6 separate regions of the Homo sapiens genome follow, and all the other regions are linked to region 1. The links are contacts of gene promoters, found by promoter capture Hi-C in blood cells and fetal thymus (Javierre and others, 2016). All regions are on one chromosome and are shown on one strand. The core of a region is centred on a gene start or on the middle of the fragment in contact, and the rest is flanking DNA. Distances in the headings are between cores, read along the strand shown.

Region 1 (3,882 bases), core at 369-2,868:
TTCACCATGTTGGCTAGGGTGACCTCAAACTCCTGACTTTGTGATCCGCCCGCCTTGACCTCCCAAAGTGTTGGGATTACAGGTGTGAGCCACCACACCCGGCCAGCATTATTGCTTAATGGATATAGTTTCAGTTTTAAAAGATGAAAAGAGCTGTGGAGATGGATGGTGGTGATGGCTGCATAGCATTAGGAATGTAGTTAATACCACTGAACAATACACTTAAAATGCTTAATGATCAATTTTACATTATATGTATTTTACCACAAACAAATTTGAAAAAAAGAAACATGTTGACACAAAAAACCCGTACATAACTAAAAAATAGATTATATTGGATTACATAAAAATGTAAAACTTTGGTGCTACAAATGATACCACTAAGAAAGTGAAAAGACAAGCCACATAATGGGAAAAAAACTTTTGCAAATCAAGTATCTGATAAGGGGCTTGTAACCAGAGCATATAAAGAACTCTTACAACTCAATAATAAAGACAATTTAAAAATGGATAAAGGATTTGAATAGACATTTCTCCAGAGAAGGTACACAAATAGGCAAAAAGCACATGAAAAGATGCCGAACGTCAGGGAAGTGCAAATAAAATCACAAGACACCACTCCACGCTGGGTTACTATACTTAAAAAAAAAAAAATCAACAATAACAAGCATTGGTGAGGATGTGGAGAAATCAGAATCCTCATACATTGCAGTTGGGAAATGGAAATTACCAGTAGGGGAATGAATAAGTAAATAACAGCATATCCATTTGATGGAATTCATTCGACCACTGAAAGCATAGTGAGTGAACGATCTCAACGGTGGGCTGAGCAAAGAGATGCGTGTGGCAGGGCTATGTGCTGTAGATGGGGAGTTGGAAGAATTTGCCCTAAGGTGGGCTGGAAGGGGTGGGTAGTGGGTTGGGGGGAGTGATGCTCTCTTTGATCTGCAGGTGGTGGAAGTATTGATTCTTAGCCTCTGCCTTTCCCCCAAGAGATGCTCAATCTACTATATCCCCAGCCAGTTCTTGCAACCCATACCTTGCTGGGCTGGGCTCAAAGCTCCCAGGTGGCACCCAGGCACTGAGGGGTGGACTGTTCGGGGATTTAGGCCCTTCCAGAGCGCCCCCTCCACTTCCAGGCACCCCCAATACACATACGATTTTTTAAAATAAATATTGCAAACATAGGTTCAACACAAAACTCCTAATGTGCACTCCACTCCCAAAATAGATTGAGAACTCCTATAAATTCCAGCGTTGGCACTCTGGGGGCAACTGAGCCCTTCTGTGCGCTATGTCACCTCCCCAAAGGTCAGGGAGAGCAGTCACAAAAGGACAGCTCTAGCCCCAGAACTTCAGTTCATTAGGCAAAGCCTGAGGTTCCGGGGCATGGGGAGGAGAGAAGGGATCAGCTGAGGAGCCAGGAAACCTGGGTTCTGAGCCTGGTTCGGACCCTCAGCAAGTTATTTCTTCTCTCTGCGCCTCCGTTTCCTCTTCTGTAAAATGGGGCATGGGCAAGGCCTGGCAGGGGCGGGGCTCGAACCCGCGGAAGGCGACGGCGGCTCCGGCCCCTCCCGGGGCGGGCGGTCACGTGCGCGATCACGCGGTCCTACCCGGAAGCGCGCCCGGGCTCCTGCAGGCGGGGCGCTGTGCGCGCCGCGATCCGGTACGTGGGCCTCCGGGCTGTCCCCTCTGGGGGCGGCGATCCTCCCTCCGGAGCCCCCCTTCAACCCTCCCGGAAGTGAGGTAGGGTCCCTAGGGGTCCCGGAGCGGGCCCACTCCTAGCCTCACCCACTCCGGGCGTGTGGCCGTGGGCCGGTCGCTTCCTCGCTCGGGGCCAAAGTTCCTCAGCCGTGAAGAGGGGTGGATGTCACAAGTCAAGCCTCCTTCCCAGGGTGGCCGTGAGGTTCGGGGGTGGGGGGAGGTGGGGATTTGGGGTGAAACTGGACAGAAACTGGCGTGCTAGGCAAACGGGAGCCCCGCGGCGGCGAACTGCTGACTCGCTCTCTCCAGAGACTCAGGGGCAGGGCCGGGCTCCGAAGGTGTGGGACCCCAGAAGGAGCTGCTGAAGACGGGACCAAGGGCCACAGGGAGGTTTGCTGGGGTCCAGATGGTGAAAGTGGGCGCTGGGGGTCGCCCCAGGTTGGCCCCCCGCCATCTGGAGCTCCTTTCGTCAGTGAGTCCCCTCCGAGTTCCCTTTCTAGGGCAAGATAGCGAGGTGAAGCGGAAGTCTCAGTGTGACACCGGCGAGGTTCTCTTCCCAGCAGCCTTTGGGAAGCATCCCCCTGTTTCGGGAATATGGCATTCGGGCCAATCATGTGGGTGATGGAGCCCGTCTCAGGGTTCGGCTGCTAAAGGCCGAACTCGTAACAGCAGTCTCTGTGGCGGGTAGTCACTTGCCTCTTACTGGCTCACAGTGCTTGACTTCCTAATTAAGTTTTCTGTTGTTCCTGCCCTCTATTCAAATATGAATGATTCCGGAACCAGATTGATTAATCCTGTTATTTGAAGAAGGGAAGCTGGGAAATAGGAATAATGATCCCCACACCTATGTAAGAACGCAGTTTGCTAAGGTTACTTTGCAGCTTGCCTGGTCACTCCCATGATCTAACCCTGTAGGGAGGTAGAGTAGGGGATGTTGCTCTGTTTCTCCGCAGGAGTTTGAGGCTCAGAGAGGTTTATGGGACTTGGCAAAGCCAAAACTAGAACCTGGTCCCAGATGCCTTTCCTGTTAGTTTCCTTCCATTCATCGTATCATCCCAGGATCCCCACTCCCTTCACCGGGACTGCATCCTCACCACCTGGGATGTGCTATGCTGTCTCCCGTCAGTCACTCCTAGCAAGCTCCCTGGGGCTGCTTGGGGAGCTCTGAGTGACCCGCAGAAGTGAGAGCACTTCATGGGAACAAAGGAGGAAGGAACAAAAGTGGGCACCTGCTCTGTGCAAAGGGCTGTGCTGGCCGGGTTCCTATTCTCCATTATGGGAGGTGAGGGGCAGGATCCCAGATATGTTCTTAGCAGACTGCCTCAGGGCCTGGAGAGACCAGGGACCACGCAGCCCTTCTCCAGCTTGTCCTTTCTCAACGGGCAGCAGTCAAGACCAGGGCATCTGCCTGCCCTCATATTCTCTCTGTTTTAAGCATTTGCAGGACCAGGGATGCTGTGCTGCTCTCCCATGAGCCAGTCACCGAGTCGGTCTGCTGCAGCCCTTTCTGAACCTCTGGCCGTCTGGATGCTCCACTGTGCTTGCCAAGGTAGATGATCTTGCCCCACCTGGGGAGGACAGGGAGGCAGGCAGCATCCACCCTGGGGCTTTGGGAGGCAGATGGAATGAGGTAGGCAGTGGACTGAGTGCTACTGGGCTCTGCACACCTGCTCATCCCCTCCCCAGCCCTGCATCCTGAGGCCACCCCCATCCTGATGCCTCATCTCTCCTTCACCCCTCGAATCCAGGCAGGTCATCACAGCCTGCTGCATCTTTAAAGCTCCTCCCAGCCCCCACCAAGGGGTGAGCACTCATTACCTGACACCCGCACCTAGATGACCGCCTTCATGACCTTGACCTGCCCATCTCCAGCCAGCCGGTCACTTCTCCGCTCACAACCACAGCCTCCATTCCATAGCCCACTGCTCCCTAACCCATACACTCTGGTCAGCTTTGTCACATGTACCTGGGAGTCCCAGAGCAGCCTCTTCAGGTCCACCCGCCTCTCCCAGCAACCTCCTTTTCACACCTGTTGCACTCTCAGTGTCTGCCTTGGCATTGAGTAATTCTGTGGGAATAGGCTGCATTCCTTCTTCACTGTGCTGTTATGTCTCCTGGCATTTGCCATAAATACCTTGGGACCAGTTGCACCAAGTTAGTTTGGGAGGAATTCAGTAA
Region 2 (4,200 bases), core at 1,645-4,144, 990 kb before region 1:
TGAATGAATGAATCATGAAAAAAAGAAACACTGGTATTGTTATGGAATGGAGTTAAACTAAGGTTAAAATAAAAACTGGCTGGGCGCGGTGGCTCAGGCCTGTAATCCCAGCACTTTGGGAGGCTGAGGTGGGCAGATCACCTGAGGTTGGGAGTTCGAGACCAGCCTGACCAACATGGAGAAACCCTGTCTACTAAAAATACAAAATTAGCCGGGTGTGGTGGCGCATGCCTGTGATCCCAGCTACTTGGGAGGCTGAGGCAGGAGAATCACCTGAACCCAGGAGGTGGAGATTGAGGTGAGCCGAGATCATGCCATTGCACTCTAGCCGGGGCAACAAGAGCAAAACTCCATCTCAAAAACAAAAACAAACAAAAAACAAAAACTAGCCAGCAGGGTGGGTTGTGCTTATAATTCCAGCTACTTGGGAGGCTGAGGTGGAAGGATTGCTTTTGCCCAGGAATTTGAGGCTGTGATAAGCTATGATCATGCCACTGCACTCCAGCCTGGCAACAGAGACTCCATCTTAAAACAAAAAAGCCTACAAAGCTTAGATACAAAAAAAAGATTCCTGATTGAAAAAGTTGGAGACTCATTGCTTTAGTTATGCAAAAGATTAAAATACACACAAACAACCTTACCCCTTTAAACAATTTTGACATTGTTATGTAATTCTCTGTAGGCCCTATGCCTCTTCCATTTCTAGAGCAAGATGTTTCTGTGTTTGGAACTTGGAAGTGTTGTCATGGAAATGAATATGATGTCAAAAAACAAATACAGTGATTTTATCATAGGAACAATGACCTCCCATGTTCTTTTTAAACACAACTATTAAACCAGTAATACACTAAAACATGATTTTAGAAATATGCTCTACCTCAAAGGGAAGTTGTGGGAATGATTTTTAGACATGATTTGATATCAAATATTCTGACTTTCTGGGGCAAAAGCATAATATAATTTCAAAAACAGTAACACTTTATGCATTCTTACATTTAGTAAGTTTTTACCGTGTGGGATGCAATATGGCACCATGGAGAAGTGACCCTGGAGGCAGACTGTGTTCATATCCCCACCATTGTCTAGCTGTGCCATCGTGGGCAAGTTACTTAATTGCTCTTTGCCTCAATTGCCTCATCTGTTAAATGGAATAATTAGACCACCTGCTTCACTTATACAACTTGAATGAGTTAGTGTTTGTGAAGAACTTAGAACAGTACCCAACATATAATAAGCACTATATAAATTCTTTTAAATAAACCTTTGTGATGTGTTAGACACGTATAAGTAGTGAACTAGTATCTATTAAACACTTGTTGCAGAACAAGTAATAATCATTAGGCAATTTTACATCTATTCTAATTAAAACTCGGATGCAAATATCCTCATTCATTCCTTCAGCCAATATTTATTGTCTGTTCGATGTCAGGAGCTGTTCTCGGTCTTTGGATACAGAATTGTGGGATTCATTTTTTTTCTTCAATTCTCAAGTTCAGGAGTACATGTGCAGGATGTGCAGGTTTGTTACATAGGTAAATGTGTGCCGTGGTGGTTTGCTGCATAGATCATCCTGTCACCTAGCTATTCAGCCAAGCATCCATTAGCTGTTCTTTCTGATGCCCTCCTTCCTCCTACTCCCACCCCTGACAGGCCCCAGTGTGTGTTATTCCCCTTCATGTATCCATGTGTTCTTCATCATTCAGCCCCACTTATGAGAACATGCAGTATTTGGCAGTATTTGGTTTTCTGTTCCTGCGTTAGTTTGCTACGGATAATGGGGATTCATATTTTTAAAAATCACTAATTTATTAACTAAGGAGCATCAATAGCTCCCCAGATTTCCAGATCAACTCTAAACTGTAGCACACCACATTGTTCTTTATTTAAAAATAGTTTCTCATAGTATCTGAAGTTTTAAGTTACTACACACATACATACTTTGCTTTGGAGAATTACTTTTTCCTGTCCTACTTCATTGTCATTGTTAGAAACTATCTAAATTTTCTATTCCTGTGAAGTGTCTCTCAAGCCTGTTTTTAAAAAATTTTTATTTATTTTTGTTGACTCAGCAGGTGACTTGTTACACACGCCTTAGTGGATTCGACTTCCATGGCCACTGTCCTGCTTCAAACCTGTCATTTTTATTTTCAATGAAAACTTGATTTTTTTTTAGGCTACAAAAATAATACATGTGTTTACTCTTTTTCTGTTAAAGCAAAGCTACAATGCATAACTGTATGCCTACATACCTATCTTTGAAAACTTGTATAAATTTCTTTAGGATAGATTCCTAGAGGAGAAATTGCTTGGTCAAATGGTATTATGTGCATTTTGACTGTTATTACCAAAATACAAGAAAAGGCTTTATTCATTGACAGTCTCCCCAATAGTGCATGTCATTGCTCTTTTCCCTCAACACTATTTTTTGAACATTTAAAATGTTTGTCAGTCTAATGGGTAAACATTGATAAATCAGCGTGGTTTCAATTTTATAATGAGGATGATTTTGGACATGTTTACTGGTTATTTGTATTTATTCTTTTCTGAATTTCTTTATATCCTAATTTTTCCACCAATACAATGAAGCTCTGACTATATAACAGATGTGACTAATAAGCATGTTGCAAATATTCTTCCATGTTATCACATATTTATTTATGGTGTCTATAGCCATGCAAAGTCAATTATTTTCTTTATAGCTTCTGAGATTGTGCCATGATTAGGAAAGTCTATTCTACCCTAATACTATGTTTCAAATATATTATTTTCCCTATATTGTTTAAAATATTTAAATCTTATATCCATCTATAATTTATTTTGTGCAAAGGAGAAACCAATTTTTTAATATATCAAACAAATCTGACATAATTGACGGTCACAACATCAGATGAAAATCTGTGCTTGAAAAGGTGCATTGTTTTTAAAAGAGTTAAATACAATCTTGCCATCTTGAGAGTTCCAGAACTCTCTACAGCCAATGCAAGGGCCTTTTCTAGGACAGTTTCCCGTCATACTCCAGGCCTCACACATACCGGCCAAATAAAAATGCTATTGTGATACCAATAGTGATTAGAAATAATACTTTATTTTCAGTAATTAACAAAAGTCAGATATCCTGAAAATCAAATAATTGGCAAGTGAGTTTATATTTTAACCTGATAATTTCCTTCTCATAAATGTTTAATTGTATGTTAGACATAAATCACTCAAGAAAGCATTTTATAGCGGCACCTTCTTTTCTGGCATCTATTTTCAGGTTTATAGAAAATGGCTAGGCCAGGCACAGTTGCTCATGCCTGTAATCCCACCACTTTGGGCTGCTGAGGCGGGTGGATCACTTGAGGTCTGGAGTTCTAGGCCAGTCTTGGCCAACATGGTAAAACACCATTTCTACTAAAAATACAAAAACTTGCCAGGCGTGGTGGCAGGCACATGTAATCCCAGCTACTCGGGAGGCTGAGGCAGGAGAATCACTTGAACCTGGGAGGCAGCAGTTGCAGTGAGCCAGGATGGTGCCACTGAACTCCAGCTTGGGCGACACAGCAAGACTCTGTCTCAAAAAAAAAGAATTCTGGATGAAAAAGTCCTAGAGATGTGTTGCACAACAATGTGCATATAGTAAACACTAATATACAGTATACTTAAAAATGATTAAGATGGTAAATACATGTTTTTTTACCACAATTTTAAAAAGAGTTAATTATGTCTTGTGGTTTATGTTTTTAATCAACCAACAAATATTTGAGTACCTAGATACCTTATTGTGGAGGATACCAAGAAGTGCAATTGATGGTTTCAGTTCTCAAGGAACTAGCAACCAAGTTGGGAGAAAATATTGAGTATACATAAAAGTTAATTAACAATCTCAGGCAATAGAATGATACCAAATGAGGAGAAGAGACATAAAGTCTTCTAGGCAGGAATCTTTTTGGGCTACAGTGATAGAAATATTCATTAGGTACTTAAATGGCTTTCAAACCATTTTAATACATATTTTCTAAATTGACCCTTTTAATAAATCTAGGAGGTATTATCTCCATTTAACAGATGAAATAAAAGCTCAGAGACTGTAATTTGCCCAACTTCACATGGCAGAGCTGGGAACTAGACTCAACGTCTTTCAGTGCTTATTCCTAGTGGGATTTATCTAAATTGGCATTGAAGATTTGCTGCCAAAAGAGTTTTCAGGGTTAAACAGAA
Region 3 (3,993 bases), core at 924-3,423, 840 kb before region 1:
AATAACCCTTTGCCAAGACGTCAGAATTTAAAGAAAATGGCATTTCATTGCAAGTAGGGCACCATAAGTTGAAGAAAAAGAAAATAACTACTTTAAAAAACTAGTCATCTGTGATTGGAAAACCTTAACTTTTATATGAAATAATATTTTTACTCCACTGATATTCCCCCTATGTTAAAATACTCTTGGCACTGAGTAAAAAATTAATTAACTTTCAAGAAGATGACTCAATCAGAATAATATAAACTGCATTCTAAAAAGAAAAATCATGGATAACAATTTTTTATTGCTAAAAATTGCCACCAGTAATTGTAGGATGTGAAAAGTAAAGGAATAGGACATTTACTACAACCAAACGAAGAAGAAAGTTCCAAAAAAAAAACAGATGATGTCTCCATTAACACACTCTTGGGTTCTAATATTAGAAATAATATTTTTTGCAGCCACGTAAATTGTTTCATCTTCTATTTATGATTTAGTTTAAGTACTACAGATTTTTTAGAGACTTTACCTTATTTACGCAACCTGAAATTTTGCAATCTGTTGCACTGTGGATGGTTTCAAACATCAGCTGCCTCTCAGTCCATCTTTAGGCACTCCTGATGCTTCTTAAATTGCCTCTCCTATGACCCAAGTCTCCATTTTTTGTCACTTCTTACAGGGACGCAGAATGTTACCATGTGAAAAAATCTTTTGGGGCTTGGTAAAACAGAAGACAGTGACCATGGCCCAATTTAATTATATTAGATTTTTAGCTGGTATTTTAATGATTACTAATACTATGAAAATATTCACAGCTAAACTATATAAGTATACCATAATTAAATTTCTTTCTTACACAAATTTTATTTTCCTTAGGGTTGAGAATTACCTGGCTGATTTTTAAATGCATCTATCATTATTTCATCCCAGATTCTCCATTATGTTTCCTCAATTCACTCAAACATATAATCTACCAGTTTTCATTCTTTTTTTTTTTTTTTTTTTTTGCTTGAGGCTGTCCCTCTTGCAGCTCTTTCATGTCTTTTTCCAATCTGGATTGATTGTTCTCTAGGCTGCTGTACAGCTGTATAGTTCCCAGTGTCCCCCTTCACCATTACCTTGGGTTCCCTTTGCTTTTCTCCTGTGTTGAATTCCCTGGTTCCTGGATCCCATGTATTTTTCCTCATTTCATTCCCTCATTTTGGTGGAAAGGAGATAAACTTTTCATCAGTTATATGTCTTATTTTAGCCATCCTTCTCCTCCTCCTTCTCTGCCTTTTACTCTTTTTCAGAATTTACACCTTCTTTTTATTCTGGGATAATTAAATTCTAAAAGCTTAGAACTTCAAGATACCTAGTTGCTTTTGTATTAAAGTGGCAGAAGTCTTTTGTATCATGTACATAAATATATACAACATAAAATCACACATGGAACTTATGTGTAAGCTATCGTGGTAGAGCTTAACAGAACCATCCACCGTGACCCTACCAGTTCAACATCATGTTCTAGATTTTCTTGCTCAGGGCTCCCTGGAACACAATTTAAAGAACACGATGTAATCTAGCCTATCCCTTAGATTTTAGGAATGGGGAAACTGAAGCCCTGAGAAAGGACTTACCTAGGGTCTTAACTTATTTCCTTCACTCTCACTCTCATCATGTTAAATTTCTCAACTTACTGTGAACCCTATTCTTACATTTTTTCAACTCAAATTATTACGTCAGTTCTACCTGTAAAATTCAAAATATGACATGACCTAACCCCTTTAGCTACAGCTTCTAGAAGAATCTAACCTCATGCTGTCTTAATCCAATGACTAGTGTTCCACAACATTTCTTTCTTTTTTGACTTGGGTTTAGGATCCCCTACCAGAAGCCATTTTTAGTATAAACTATTTTTACTCCTCAGTAACTAGCTTTCTTATTTACCAGTTATTAAAGATAAGCAACTTTGGCAAAGTAATGGCTGAATGAGCTTGAGACATCAAAATATACATCTCTACATTGAGATATGAATGCTATTGATTTTCAGACTCCCTTGTTTTAAAGTGAACCACCTAGGGAAAAATTTCCATTTTCTTAAGGTAAATGTTTGAAGTTGGTGTGATAATCCTGGAGGTGTACTGCTCAGATCTCCATTTAAGAGGATCTGCTGCAAGAAACATAGCTGGATGACTCCAGATGTTCACACCAGACCATATTCTCTTCACATTGTCTGTGATGTTCACTCCAAGCCACACACCCCTGCCACCCTCACACCCACTGCTGCTCCCAGCCAATGACTGAGCTCAGCTGGTTTACTAGGTTGGGCCATTTCTGCTCAACTGGGACTCCTCTGATGGCAGTCTTTGCTTGGACACTCCATGTTGGCCTGGTGAAGACTTTCTCTGAGCTGTGCTCTAGCTTGAGGTTCTTCCTGCCCAGTCCTCATTCCTTCTCTTCTTTCACAATTGTCATACCTAATCATAACTTGAAGGCTCTCCTCATTTATTCCTGCTGCTTCTCTCCTTGATCCTTCGTGGGCATTTCCCTAAGTAAATCTCTTGGATGTCTGATTCCTTCTTGGCATTTGCTTTTCAGAGGACCTGAACCAACACGTTTGATATTTGCAGGATTAGCTCTAAGATAATTCAACAAACATTTAATGAATTCTGCTCTAGGGAAGGTTCTGTACTAGATGCTGGAGATACAAAGATAAATGAAACAAATCTCTGCTATTATGTTGTTTGTGAGAGGTATTTAGCGATCCCCAAGTATAGGATAGTGATTAAGAGGGTGAATTTCAAGTTCAAATCTATGCATCACTGCTTACTGCAAGCTCTCTAAGCATCATTCTTCTTATTCAAAAAATGGGATGATAAAAGTATCTATCTTACAGTGTTACAGTGAGAATTAAATGAGAGACTATCCTATTAAGCAGTTTGCACAGTTCCAAGCATTTAACAGTACTCAAGGAATACTGGTTGGTATCAACATTAATGTAATGGGATAAGTCTTAAATATTTTGTTTTTTAACACATTAATTTTTTTCATTTATAAAGCTTTTTTATTGTGATGAAATATACATAACAGAAAATTTTCATTTTAACAATTTTTAAGTGTATAATTCAATGTCATTATATTCACAATGTCATACAGTCATCACCATTATTTCCAAAACTTTTTCATCACCCCATACTGAAAGTCTTTACCTATTAAGCACTAACCCTCATCGCCCACTTTCCCCAGCCCCTGGTGACCACTAATCTATTTTCTGTCTCTATGAATTTGCTCATTCTAGATATTTCATATAAGTGGAATCATACAATATTTGTCCTTTTATGTCTGGCTTGTTTTGCTTAGTGTGTTTTCAAGGTTCATTCATTTTTATGGCTGACTATTCCATTGTGTACATATATAAGATTTTATTTATCCATTCATCTGATGATAGACAACGTGGATCATATTCACCTTCTAGGTTATTGTGAATAATGCTGCTGTGGGCATTCATGTAGAAGTATTTGAGTCCATCTGTTCAATTATTTGGATATATAACAAGTGGAATTGTTGGGTCATATTGTTGGTAATTCCACGTTTAATTTTTTGAGGAACTGCCAAGCTGTTTCCACAGCAGCTGTGTAATTTCACGTTCCCATTAGCTATGTATGAGGATTCTGATTTCTCTACATCCTCAGCAATATTTCTTCTCTCTCTCTCTCACTTTTGTTATAGCCAACCTAGTGCATGTGAAGTGGTGTCTCATTGTGGTTTTGATTTGCATTTCCTAATGACTAATGATTGGAATACGTTTTCATGTGCCTGCTGATTGTGTGTGTATATATATATAATTTTGAGACAGGGTCTTGCTCTATTCCCCAGGCTGGAGTGCAGTGGTGCAAACTCAGCTCACTTCAACCTCTGCCTCCTGGGTTCACATGATCCTCCCACCTCAGTTTCCAGAGTAGCTGGGATTATAGGCATGTGCCACCATACCTGGCTAATTTTTGTATTTTTTGTAGAGACGGGATCTCA
Region 4 (4,011 bases), core at 1,246-3,745, 780 kb before region 1:
GTACCTAGGATTATGTTACACTGAGAACAATGAGATCTGTTTAAAATGAAGGCTACAATTTGTTTCCCTTTGTGAAAGGAGAAAGTGGGCATCATGGGGAGAAAAGAAATTGGCAGAAGGCAGTGCCCTGTAAAACTATATAAAATTAAAAAAAAAACATAAACGGAAAAGATCTAAGAGGTTACCTTCAGTCCTCTATCACGTTAGGGGCCAGTATAGGATCATTCCATATGGAATCCTTTTCTTGTTTTGTCCAACCTGGCATTAAATATCTCTAGGAATGTAGTTTTTCACCACTCATAGGGGAGAGAGTTCTTCTGTCCCATAAGCTTTTGCTGGGAAATTTCTCCTGAATTTTCCCTTTATAAGGATTTACAATTATTCCTGTTTGCATTTTTTAGACATCTATCTTCAAAATAATTTCTGCCTTTGGTGTGAGTGTTAGCTTAAAAAAAAATGTTTCCTCATAGCTGTTTTTTATCTAGACTACCTGGATCTAATTCTTTTAAAACTTTCTTTAAAGTCAGTCCTTCCAGACACTAATCTGTTTTATTGCTCCTAGCCGAACTCCTTTTGATTTATGTTTTCCTAGTAATAAGATGCTCTGAACTATATCAGTATTTGAGGCTTTAGCAGAGTTAAAGAGAATGAGAATGTCCTATTTCTGCCCTTTGAAGCTCACATATCCTTAAATTACCCATACTGTCTTTGTTGTTGCATGTTGCATTGCAGAATTCAAGGCAAAATGTTCTTGGTATAGTCTCAGCAATTTTGAAAACATTATGCTTCTGTTGTCCCTTTTCATCTAGTGATAACTGTTATCATCATGAGCATCTTAAAGTAATTAAGCCTTCTTAGGAAATGGTCCTGTAGTAAGCACTTGGGCATAAAGGCATCTTATTAAAAAATGTATTTACTTAGACGTAGTACAGAATAACAACATACATTTTGAGTAATAAGATATACCTACTGGCACATTATGAAACTGAATGATACAGTGAAGAGAAAATGGAATTTGGACTTAGGAAGGTTGCACTGCATGCCTGGCCCTATGACTTATGAATGTGTGGCCCAGGGCTTACTGTTTATAGCATGTGGATGATGATGATTACCTGCTGTACCTTGCTTCTCTGAAGGTTCTAAGAGGTAATGTTTGTAAGTTATTTTTTTGACTGCACAACACTATAAGAAAGGTAAGGATTCTTACATTCATTAAAGGCAACTTCAGCAAATTTCTAATATATATTTAATGTTTTAAAGTGGGATTAAGGAGTGAGTAAGATTTAATGAGACTGAAGCTTTTACAGAAGGCAGAAGGTAGATTTATGGAATTACCTGAGAGGATTGAGAGAATGTAAGGAGAATTATCTTTAAGGAACAGAGTTGAGAACCAAAGGTGGCTTTTGTTATGTACTAATGTTAAAATGAATGGATAGTTGTAGCATTGAGCAAAAAGCTTCCACTTTTCTGGTTAATCCGTTTATATTGCTACCCTGATAAGTTTTTTTTTTTTTTTCGATATGGAGTCTCCTCTTTTGCCCAGGCTAGAGGGCAGTGGCATTATCTTGATTTACTGCAATCTCTACCTCCCAGGTAGAGTGATTTTCGTGCCTCAGCCTCTTCAGTAGCTGGGATTACAGGTGTGCGTCACCATGCCTCGCTAATTTTTGTATTTTTAGTAGAGATGGGATTTCACCATGTTGGCCAGGCTGGTCTTGAACTCCTGACCTCAACTGATCTGCCCAGTTCAGCCTCCCCAAAGTGCTGGGATTACAGACATGAGCCACTGTGCCTGGCCCCGATGTGATTTTGTTGTTCCCCTTGTTTTCCCATGAATTAATAATGCAATTAACAACTCATGTGTCTTCTGTTTTCCAGATACTTTCTGAGCACATTAATGCAACTGTATTTTCTCTAACTTTGTAAAACCACTGTTTATGTATCACTTTGGGAGCTTCACTGGTTACTCCTTTAATGCAGTTAACTATTCTACTCTATGCTTAGGCACCTTGAATTATATACACAAATAGTGATGATGGAAGAAGTAAAAATAGAGTTGTTCTTTATACCCAAGGAATCTTACTGTTGCCTAACTTCCTTTTTGTTCTATGTAATGTTATGCTTTACCTGCTCTCAACAAGGAAATCTTGGGTTATTCTTCTGTTCTTAAGTTTATTTTTTTCCAGTCTTCCCCTCTTTGTATTGTATTCAATGTGATTTATTTGTATGCATGTTTTTTTAAGACCATAACTGCATCTTTAATGAAGATGTACACCATTTTTTAAATGTACATCAAAAGCCAGCTTAATATTTCTAAAATGTCATATTCATCATGTTGCTCTTTTGCTAAAAAACTATGGTTATTTTTGGATTGCTTACATAATATGTTCAAACTCCTCAACCTGACATTCAAAACCTTTCACATTTCAGTCTCAGCTTACTTTCACTACCCTGTGTTTCCATATACCTTTTATTACAGCCCAACTTACTTGATTGTTCACTGTCTTCTTAAAGCACCTTTATTATCTCAACCCCGTACCTTTGTTCAGTTACTATATGAATATGCATTGAATGTATTTCTCTTGGCTTAAGTCAGAGCTTATTCCATCTCACCTAGTTTTTGAAGGCCCATTGCAAATGTTCCTTATTTGCACAAAACTGTTCTTGAACAGGTCATTCCACAGTGATCTCTTCTTTCTTTAGACTGCTGTAGCTTTTACTCTTTATGCTTTTCTTTTGGCTCCTTCTGCCTTGTTTTGCCATTTAATTTTATGTATATATATATATATGTATATACACACACACACACACACACACACATATATACACATTCAACTTTATATATATATATAGACATTCAACTTTATATATATACATATATATATATATTTTACCTTTCCATCTAGAATGCAAATTCTTTATAGGAAGACACCGTATCTAATTATTGTATATCCACAATGTCTAGCCTTTATGACACATGGTAGATCTTCAGCAAATTTTCTTGGGTGTATGCTAGGTTAAAAGCACTGTGAAAGGCCCTGGGAAAATGGAGGTGACCAGTGGAGAAATGACTGAAGGTATACATGAAGATTCCATTCATTTTACACTTTCAACACATATTCCCATGCAGTCCATTCTTGATGCTTATTTTTTAATGGCATTCTTCATGATTTTAACCATGTGCTCTTTATCTGTGGTTGTCTAAGTTGTCTTTATTTTATGCTATGTGTTAAATTAACTTTATTACCCAGTTTAAAGCCTTGCACTAGAACTACATTTTAAAAAATTGTATCTGTTTCTACCTTGCCTTTACTTTTGCTTTTCTTTGTTAGTCTAATGTAATTTCTATTCCTGATTTTTCAATTCCTGGTGTAACAGTGCCTTTTCACAACTTTCAAATATCTTTTATCTTTATCTCCTGAAGATTTTTCTCTTCAGAGAGCTTCTGAATTCTAAATGATGAATGTGTGTATACTTTGTAAACTCTAAGACACTGTATAACTATTATTATTCTCTTTTCTCTAGGAAGCTTTTCCACAGATGAAGTAATTAATTCTTTTTCTTTTTAATCCCATTCTATCAATCAAGACTTATGGTGTAAGAACAGCACAACTGCCAAAATACATATTTGCCTTGAACTTATCCACTTTCTATTATCTCATTTTATTTCACATAATGGTTTTGAAATTCTGTTACATTTAATAAGTATGTACTGATTATCTACTCTCTGTTTAGTTTCATGCTAGACAAAGAATGGCAGAATATAAAATAAATAAAAGATGCTATCCCAAATCACCATTAGAACACAACAGTAATAATTGCTTTAGGCGAGATACCTTAATCAAGTGTTGGACTTAGCGGGTGGAACTTTAAAAGAGGATATTTGCATAGCCTTAAAGCATCTCCCTCATAATATTTATTAACTAATTATTGTGGTGGTTTTAATATATGTCCACAAATTCTCCACCTCTGGGAGGTGGAGCTTAATTCTTCTTCCCTTGAGTGTGACTT
Region 5 (4,130 bases), core at 1,288-3,787, 920 kb before region 1:
TATATCTATGTAACAAAAATGCACTTGTACCCCCTAAATCTATTAAAAAAAGAAGAAAAGAGAAAGCAAATTGATGAGTTCTGGCTTGGCCAGACCCATTTGTAGCTGTTTTAGGGTGGTGGCTGGATAAGTCTGTGTTCTTTCCTCCAGGCTAGTTGTTGCAGAAAAGCGGGGCAGAGAGTCCTGCCCAAAAGTAGCTTCTTTGGCCCCAGTGCAGCATCTGGAAAACCATACCTTGATCTGGTGGGTTTTGACCTCAACTCAGTTTGGACATAACCAAGGGAAGAGAGTGTGAGCAGGGCTTGTGGCTTCAGCTGCCCAGAGAATCACCACCATTCCTCAATAATCCTCCACTTTGCCTGGCCAGACATGGGCTTCACACACCCTACACCAGTTGTTCCACATCCTCATCTCTTATGTCACAATTCAAGATATGTTCAGGGAAGACAACAGGGAAATAGCCCTATTTTATCTACTAAACTCCTTCCATCCGTGGAAGCTTCTCCTGTTGAAAACAGAGGCAACAGCTACATCCCAGTTCCCTCCAAAGCTCTCATCATTTCACTGGCACCCAGTGTAGATGACACCCACAAGGACTCACATGTCAAACACAAGCTACATCACTATTGTGCTGGGAGGAGGAAAAACATGTCTTTTTTTTTAAAGTAAAAACAATGTTATTGAAAGTTTATTTATAAAATCATAAAGGATTCCCAACACCAAACGATACAATTGTCTTACAAAGATCGAGTCTATAAAAGCAATTTTTAAAAGAAAAAAGAACCTTTACTCCGTGAGAAAGTCCCGGCCCCTCTGAGTATTGCGCAAGATCAATGTTTTCGTGTCCTGGAGTCTGACATTCCTTAGTAGGTTGGATGCTGATGACTTGGCATTTTGGTAATTATGCATATACACTCAGAGGTTTCTGAGCAAGGGACATGGAAATGCTTTTAATAAAAAGCAGAAGAAATCAGTAACAGACGAGTGTCTTAGCAGCATGGCAAACTAGTTCAAGTTGTGTAATTCCCCTTGGCATATCCTAAGAGCACAGAGGCACAGCTTGGGGGAGTGAAGCGAGGAGGAAAATCCTAAGTATAATGCAAGGAGGTCTGGAAGGAGACAGATCAAACAGTATGATATGTGACACCAACCCGGGACCTGTCAGCAGGCAGCAGGCCAAGCAACCAACCCATCCCTTGCCCACTCTTGCTCTTGCATCAGACCCTCAGGTTGGCTCAGGTGTAACCGGGTGATGGGGAGCAGGGTTTTCTGCTCTGTGAAATTGTGGCAGACCTCATTCCTGCAGCCTTTGAGTGGTCAGTCTCTAACAGATATCTGTCCTGGGTTGGCTACTTGGATTGCTGAGGTTTGGGTGGGGAAGGCACTAGGGTAAAATTGGGGGCAGGGTGGCAAAGGGTATGGAAGAGGACTTCACACTGTAATCGGGGCTGGATGGAATCTCCTCTCCTTCTGTAGTAATAGTCAGGGGCCCTGAAAATCTATACACAGCAGCTCTGGGACTCTTGCTTCATTTGTGACACCTGTATCCAGGGAGCCTTCACAACCCTATCCTGGAATCAGACCCCAAGATACAGAAGTAGAATGCTAAGCTCCCATTTTCCCTATGAGGATTTGAGGAAAAAGGAGGGTTCAGGGGTTGCCTGCCTACATCTTTTGTACCATCAGTGAGGGATGAGGGGGAATGGCCTACTTTGGTCTGACTGTGATTGTGCCGTGGGCCATCTCTGTTCTCCAAAATGGATGAGGAAGCTTAATTACATAGACCTGTAAGAGTACCAACTAGAATTATTAAAATTCATTATACTGGGGCAATATTTAGCATCAGACAACCGAACACCAAAGCCAGCTGTCTGTCAAAACTACGATGTGAACTCTAAGCCCAAGTTAGGATCCCAGATGAACTCATTCACTTTACACGGAGCTTTAATGGTTCCCAAATGTTCATCACACAAGAGCCAACCCGAAGGAATATTTCCACTTACCACATTTTGCAAAGTAGAAATATTATTTTTAGAGATTCCCTGTATATTCAAGCAGAAAACTGTCATTATTGATCTCAGTGCACATTATGAATAGATAACCGAGCACTGAAAAAGAACCGTTGGTTCCAAAGTCTCTGTCTCTGTGCTTTTGTGGATTTGAAAGGACTGTTATGGGGAATTCAAAATTATCTCCACCACCAGGAGAAGAAAGAAGGAGTGAATATGGGGAAAGGGAATGCTAATTGCAGTGGGGCTGTGTACTTTCAGGGGAAACCCCTGATCAGAAGTTTCATTTTTAAATGAAAGCACCTGCCAAGTTGGTTAACCACACCACAACCTGGAGGTAATCTGTGAACCACTGTGTTCTTATTTCAAACTAAGGCTCAAATAGAAAGAGACTCCCTATGGATAATGATGGCAATATTTGGTGCAGAGACCCCTAGCCTCAATCTAGTGCGAGCACCAGATTCGTAATTAGCACTGCTTTCAAAATGCAAATAAATCACAGCCCTCTAGGGGGCATAAAATGTCTATATTCAGAGGTACAGCAAGGTCCCAGGCAGTAGGTGGAGAGCAGGATCTAAGACTTAGATTCCAGTCCTTGTCCCTCTGCCTACCTAATACACATACAACACTGACTGACTTTCTCAGAACCTGTTTTTTAATCTGTTGTTTTTCAATGACTATTCCTGCCTATCTCCCAAAGTGATTGTGGGGAGTCAAATCAGACAATGACAATTCTTTCTTAGACTTCAAGACCCTACTAATCTCTAGGATTTATTTTCCTCCCATATAAGATACGGTTGAGATTTAGCATATATGTAAATTAATGTATCTGGATCAGAAATCAATATTTCCACTTAGCACATTTTGCAAAGTAAAAAAAATTTTTAGGTACTTTGGTATATTCTAGGAGAAAATGGCATCATTGTTGATCTCAATGCACACTATGAATGGACGATCGAGCACTGAATAAGAGCCCTTGGTTCCAAAGTCTGTGCTTACAGGGCCAGAAGTTACCTGGAACTTCTTTCTACAAAAATCCCAGACCTCTGAGGCTACTTCTTTTAATGATTTGGAACAAAAGCAAGAGTGACAGAGGAAATACCACAGAATAGGTCCTGTGGATGTCAGCTGATCACTGGGAAGGCACAGTGATTAGCTCTAGATAGAGACCAGACACAAGGTGGAGAGGAATAAGCCAAAGGAGAAACTAGGCATTCCCTACCTCTGGTTTTCTCCCACTGTACCCACCATTGCTCCACCCTGCAGAGTTAAACCAAGGGTGGGAATAAGCTTACCTCTTTATGGGTAGGGTTTCCATTGTGTTGACACTAATCTCCTGTTGTGTTGAATATCCACAGTCATGGAAAAGGGGGGAAAGTTGAAAATACTCTCAGGGGCACATGACACCACCCAGAGTTGGATCAGAAGTCTCAGCACTTCCTGGGGGTTCTGCACAGCAGGAGGGAATCACTTTCATCTCTGTCTGACATTGGGTTATCATGGACTTTATAATAATCAATACAGATGAACTAGAATTAACCTTCCTTTAACTGGGAAGTTACAATTAACTAGGTCATCTGGTTAACTGAAGGTTAATTAAAAAGGAAAACACATCCTCGCTTTGATCTTTTGGGCTGAAAGTCTTTTAAAATGTGCATCTCCCCTTTCCTCTGAACCTTCACAGCACACTCTTGGCATTCACCAAGATTCACTGCATGTGAAGGAACTTGAAGGTCCATCAAGTGGTCATTTCTAATTTTGCGGGCATGTAGGAGTAGACCATTTAGCTGGTGAGGGCACCAGATTGGCATTTCACATTGACTGTCCGATCCTGTAGTCATTATGAAGGCATGAGCTCTCACAAAGCAAGAAAAACTATTTCTTAGTGGAAAATCACCATCGAGAGAGAGAGAGAAAACTTTGGTGAAATTTGAGAAGGTGGTTAACTTATCTTGTATAGATCAACATGAGGACCAGATGGTTTTTGATGAAAAAAAGTGATTTTGGGAAAAAACAGAAGTCAACATAAATACTTCTGAGGTTGCAAATTGGAGGGTTTGAAGTCTCAAAACATGACCTTTTTTAAATGTTGAGGGTCTACTATATAGACAGAGAAACATA
Region 6 (3,929 bases), core at 1,003-3,502, 950 kb before region 1:
TTCTCTGTCATGTGTGTTCCCTGCCTGCACAAACCTACATGTACATACCATGGATTAGAGACACTTGCAGGACTGAAAGGCTGCTCTGGTGAGGCAGCCTCTGTTTAAACCGGCCCCACATGAAGAGAACATCCCTTGAGACGAATTTGGAGACTGGGATTAGAGCCTTTGGAGGTCAAAGCAAATTAAGATTTTTATTTAAGAATAAAAGAGTACTTTGATCATGAGACATAGGTATCTTGTCCCTCTCACTAAAAAGGAGTGTTGTGTGTGGCGGCCACGTGCTTCTATGTGGTGTTTGACTCTGTACAAATTCTAGTCCCAAAGATCAAGTTGTCTGAAGGAGCCAAAGTGTGAATGTGGGTGTCGGCTGCGGCATTAAATTCATCATCTCAACCCAGAGTGTCTGGTCTCCCTGCTCTTTCTGCATGGTTGTGTCCCTAGTCCTAAGCTTTGGTTCTTTAGGGTGACTGTGGTAAGAAGGATATTTAATCATGACATGCACGGACACGTACATATTTAACTGAAACAAGTTTTACCAAACAGTATTTACTCGTGATGTGCGTAGTGCATTCTGATATTTTTGAGCCATTCTATTGTGTTCTACTTCACCTAAAAAAATAAAATAAAAATGTTGATCAAGACATGGAGTTGATTTTATGACCACTAATGGGTTGTGACCCACAGTTTAAAATGAATGCTTTAGAGGGTTTTACTAGTGGCTAAAGGAAAAACTACAATGTGTTCTTACAGTATAGCTTCCTTCAGTGAACTCACCATATAACTCCCTGGTGATTTTGCGGGCTTGTCATTTGGAGGCCAGCTGTCTTATGTTACTTAAGAAACTGGACTTCTTGGACTGTGAGAGGAGATGACATCACTCAGGTTGATTATAGAACATCAGCCCGTTCCCTGCTGTCAGAGTCCCTCCTGGTTTATTGAAACAGAACCACAAAAACATACATCACAATTTCCAGAGTCCAAGGGCCGCTCCAAATGGCCATTTTGTAGAATTTGGTGGGGTTTGATGTTACTTAACACAAGAGGTCTATTAATTGGAGTTTTTAAGTATTTAAAGTTAATTCTTGTGATTTTAATAGGATCTGCCACTTTCTAGGACTCATTTGGGTTGTTAGAAAATCCTGCAGTCCTGAGGGATGACTGGGGCCTCAGAAGTCATCAAGTCCTGCCTCTCCGCCAGTGAAATAGTCTCTCCATATTGTCTCTGACTCATCCATTTCAACTGGTGGGGTGGTAGTGGTGATGGATTCTTTAAATACCTGGTGAGGCATCCCCTTCTGCTGGTGGGGCCTCTTAATTAAAAAAAAAGAGGCTCATTTACCTTTTGCTCACGGTAAAAGTTCATCTACCTTGAACCAGAATTTGATCTTTGTTCCACTCCCCTGCCCCTCCTTTCCTTCCTTTAAACCACAGATAGTAAATCTACTGGCACTTCTAATCTACCACCTTTCAAATATTTGAAAGTAGCAGTTGTCATTCCTTGTTTACACTTTTCCACATGAACTGCCTCTCCCCCACCACTTTTGTTTCTGCACAGGATGTGGTTTCCAGATCCTTCCCTGTCTGGCTGGAGCCCCAGGAGTTCTTCAGAGGACACTCACTCTGCCAGTGTGTGGTTGGGCTGGTGGAAGTTCATGAGTGAATGTGATTAGATGCCCTCCCACCCATCTCTTCACAGCTTTCTGAACATATCAGTCTTTGTTCTCCTCCCAATGTAAAGATGCTTGTTGTTAGTAAGGGAAGGCAGCCAACAGAGAAGTCGAATGATTCTACCTTCTGTCAATCTGCCATTCTCTCCAAACGCTTTCAACCACTCATTCTCCATGGGGACGATACTGCCTCCATGGGGACGAAAATTGGCTCTCTGGGGCAAAAAAAAAAAAAGCCTGAAATACTAAAATGTTGCCTTCCAAAGTGCAATCCTACCTGACCATCTTATTAGTATTTAATTTCTCTTGTTAGGGAAAATTAAAATTTTCTCTTTAGGGGGCTGCCAAAACCATTAAAGATAAACACATCTTTAAATCTAAGTGACAGTACCAAAGTGCTCAAATGTTTTTAGCCTTGAAAAAAGCCCATCTCAATGGGAATCTGGCCTTCTTCTATTCCGACAGATATGTTGGTTGGTGTGGTTCCCACTGCGTTCACCTGAAAAAGGGCTGTGAGTTTGGGAAGCCGGCAGGACTCCTCAGGCCTCTGACATGCCAGTGAACTTCAGAGGTGGGATTGTTTCACCAATTTTGCTCACTCAAGAGCAGGGCACTCCAACCTCCAGGCTCTGCCAGTTCCCAGGTGTGTAACCGTGAGCAAGAAGACAGTAACCTTGCAGACAGTAACCCCTCCTCCACAGGGTGGTTGAGAAAGAAATGAGCTAATGGGTACTTAACAGAATACTTGGAACATAAAGCCCTTGGCAAAATAGTTGTTTCCATTATTTATTATTACCGTTAGTGAAATGAATAGCCTCTACTGAGGTTCCTGAGAAGAATCTTAAGAGGTTTTGGCATAGGCCCCTGATCCTCCTGTTTGCTTTGAGAAATGAGTAGTAGGTGTCAGATTTCAGCCTTCCTTCCACACAGGTATTATATGCCCAAACACATCTTCCCACCTGCCTGGCTGTTCCCTCCCTCCAGCATCGGCTTAAAACTGACCAACAGGCCTGGCCCATTCTTGTGTTCCGTTCCCTAGCCTTTGGTTGCAAACTGCCAGAGTCATGCCACTTGGACTCCTTTCTGAAGGTTCTGCAGAAGCGAGCTAGTGTGACCAACATTCTGTCTCAGGGGCTTGTCTGGGTTTAGCCCCCAAGACCCTGAATTTGGACGGCACCCAGCACAGCACCTCACCCATCACATGGGTTCAGCAAATGCCAGCCCTTCTCACTGTCGTCTTAGTTCCTTCCTCGTCTTTATGCATACTGGCTTCTCATTTGGGTTTTACTTCTCATTTCTGGCATTCACTCCTGCAAAATCTTACCATCTGGCCTCCCAAAGTAGTGTGCCAAGGCTTCCCCGTGACCTCACCGCAGCCTCACACCTGGCCCGGAGCGGCATGCCTCTTCAGGCAGGTGGTGCACAGGTGAGATCATCACACGTGGGCATCACTCAACCTGCATCTCAAATGAAGCCACGTCAGAAGATTCCAGGGGCAAGGAAAACAGCCACATTCCAGGAAAGGCATTTTCATTTTATTTAAAAATTATTTACAATTTATTAAGCCTTCATAAATGCTTTATTTTAAAATCTTTTTTTTAAACTTTTTTTTTAACCTGAAGAAAATCTTTGTGGGGTGGGGGTATATAGGGAGGGGAGTGGTGACAGGCTCCATAGGGATTTTGCAAAGGGATGGGTGTAATGCAACAGCAGTGGCTTGAGCCTGGTGGCCTCAGGTGATGAAGACCAGCCAGGCAGGCACCCCGGGGCCAGTGGTCAGCTGGGCAAGAAGCCTGCATGATGGTAGTTCTTGTTCAAAACTCACCATTTATTGGTTTGGGTCTAAGTACCCAACATTGAGGGCTGACACTTCGCCTGTTCCTACCAGGCAAGAGCAGGTGTTGGGACTGGATGACTGTGAAGTTATCTACGAGAAGTCATGCACTGCTGAGCCTCAGGCCAGGCCAGGCAAGGGGTGTGGTGAAGTCAATAATCATTGCTGGAAAAGGCTTCTCTAGCTCCAAAGTCTTTACTTCCACACGCTGTGGCCCTCCTGTCTGCAACACCTGCTCTGGGTTGTTGGGGAAGAGGGGACAAAGTTATGTGGGGGTGTTGGTTGTACAATACTCTAGGGTGTGCCGAGAATTTCTGAGGACTTCCACTTCTTGGTGGGTGCCAGCCTTCCCCATCAATTGATGGACATTTGAAAAGACCACTTATGATTAAAAACCTGTCTCGAACTGCCCAGTATCCACTTCA

What was found. Contacts are between HindIII fragments. The CHiCAGO score rates a contact against its expected background, and 5 or more counts as called.
Region 2: a fragment that was not itself captured here is called in contact with the fragment with the promoter of HPS1 in region 1 in 1 of 17 cell types (total CD4 T cells); the score reaches 5.5 in total CD4 T cells.
Region 3: a contact is called between a fragment that was not itself captured here and the fragment with the promoter of HPS1 in region 1, in 1 of 17 cell types (megakaryocytes). The highest score is 5.3, in megakaryocytes.
Region 4: a contact is called between a fragment that was not itself captured here and the fragment with the promoter of HPS1 in region 1, in 1 of 17 cell types (total B cells). The highest score is 7.0, in total B cells.
Region 5: a fragment that was not itself captured here is called in contact with the fragment with the promoter of HPS1 in region 1 in 1 of 17 cell types (total CD4 T cells); the score reaches 5.1 in total CD4 T cells.
Region 6: a contact is called between a fragment that was not itself captured here and the fragment with the promoter of HPS1 in region 1, in 1 of 17 cell types (naive CD8 T cells). The highest score is 6.4, in naive CD8 T cells.

Annotation. Positions count from the first base shown.
Region 1 is chr10:98,444,671-98,448,552 of GRCh38, reverse strand. HPS1 (HPS1 biogenesis of lysosomal organelles complex 3 subunit 1) reads left to right here and starts at 1,618. Exons shown (of 20, transcript NM_000195.5): 1 at 1,618-1,746; 2 at 3,149-3,253. It overlaps HPS1-AS1 (HPS1 antisense RNA 1), which reads right to left and starts at 2,232. Exons shown (of 3, transcript NR_134454.1): 1 at 1,796-2,232. RefSeq lists a silencer at 1,451-1,800. The HindIII fragment of the contact is 10,907 bases long and covers 1-3,882 here.
Region 2 is chr10:99,436,981-99,441,180 of GRCh38, reverse strand. The region is part of intron 3 of GOT1-DT (GOT1 divergent transcript); the gene reads right to left. Among named protein-coding and RNA genes, the nearest start is that of GOT1-DT, 8.1 kb to the right of the region's middle. The HindIII fragment of the contact is 4,686 bases long and covers 552-4,200 here.
Region 3 is chr10:99,285,745-99,289,737 of GRCh38, reverse strand. It overlaps a transcript of HPSE2 not described here. Among named protein-coding and RNA genes, the nearest start is that of CNNM1, 42 kb to the left of the region's middle. The HindIII fragment of the contact is 1,705 bases long and covers 1,321-3,025 here.
Region 4 is chr10:99,226,679-99,230,689 of GRCh38, reverse strand. The region is part of intron 2 of HPSE2 (heparanase 2 (inactive)); the gene reads left to right. Among named protein-coding and RNA genes, the nearest start is that of HPSE2, 7.2 kb to the left of the region's middle. The HindIII fragment of the contact is 2,073 bases long and covers 1,459-3,531 here.
Region 5 is chr10:99,369,494-99,373,623 of GRCh38, reverse strand. All of the region lies in intron 6 of CNNM1 (cyclin and CBS domain divalent metal cation transport mediator 1), which reads right to left. Among named protein-coding and RNA genes, the nearest start is that of CNNM1, 42 kb to the right of the region's middle. The HindIII fragment of the contact is 1,529 bases long and covers 1,773-3,301 here.
Region 6 is chr10:99,393,585-99,397,513 of GRCh38, reverse strand. It overlaps CNNM1 (cyclin and CBS domain divalent metal cation transport mediator 1), which reads right to left. Exons shown (of 11, transcript NM_020348.3): 11 at 3,184-3,929. GOT1 (glutamic-oxaloacetic transaminase 1) reads left to right here. Exons shown (of 9, transcript NM_002079.3): 9 at 1-644. Among named protein-coding and RNA genes, the nearest start is that of GOT1, 35 kb to the left of the region's middle. The HindIII fragment of the contact is 3,598 bases long and covers 454-3,929 here.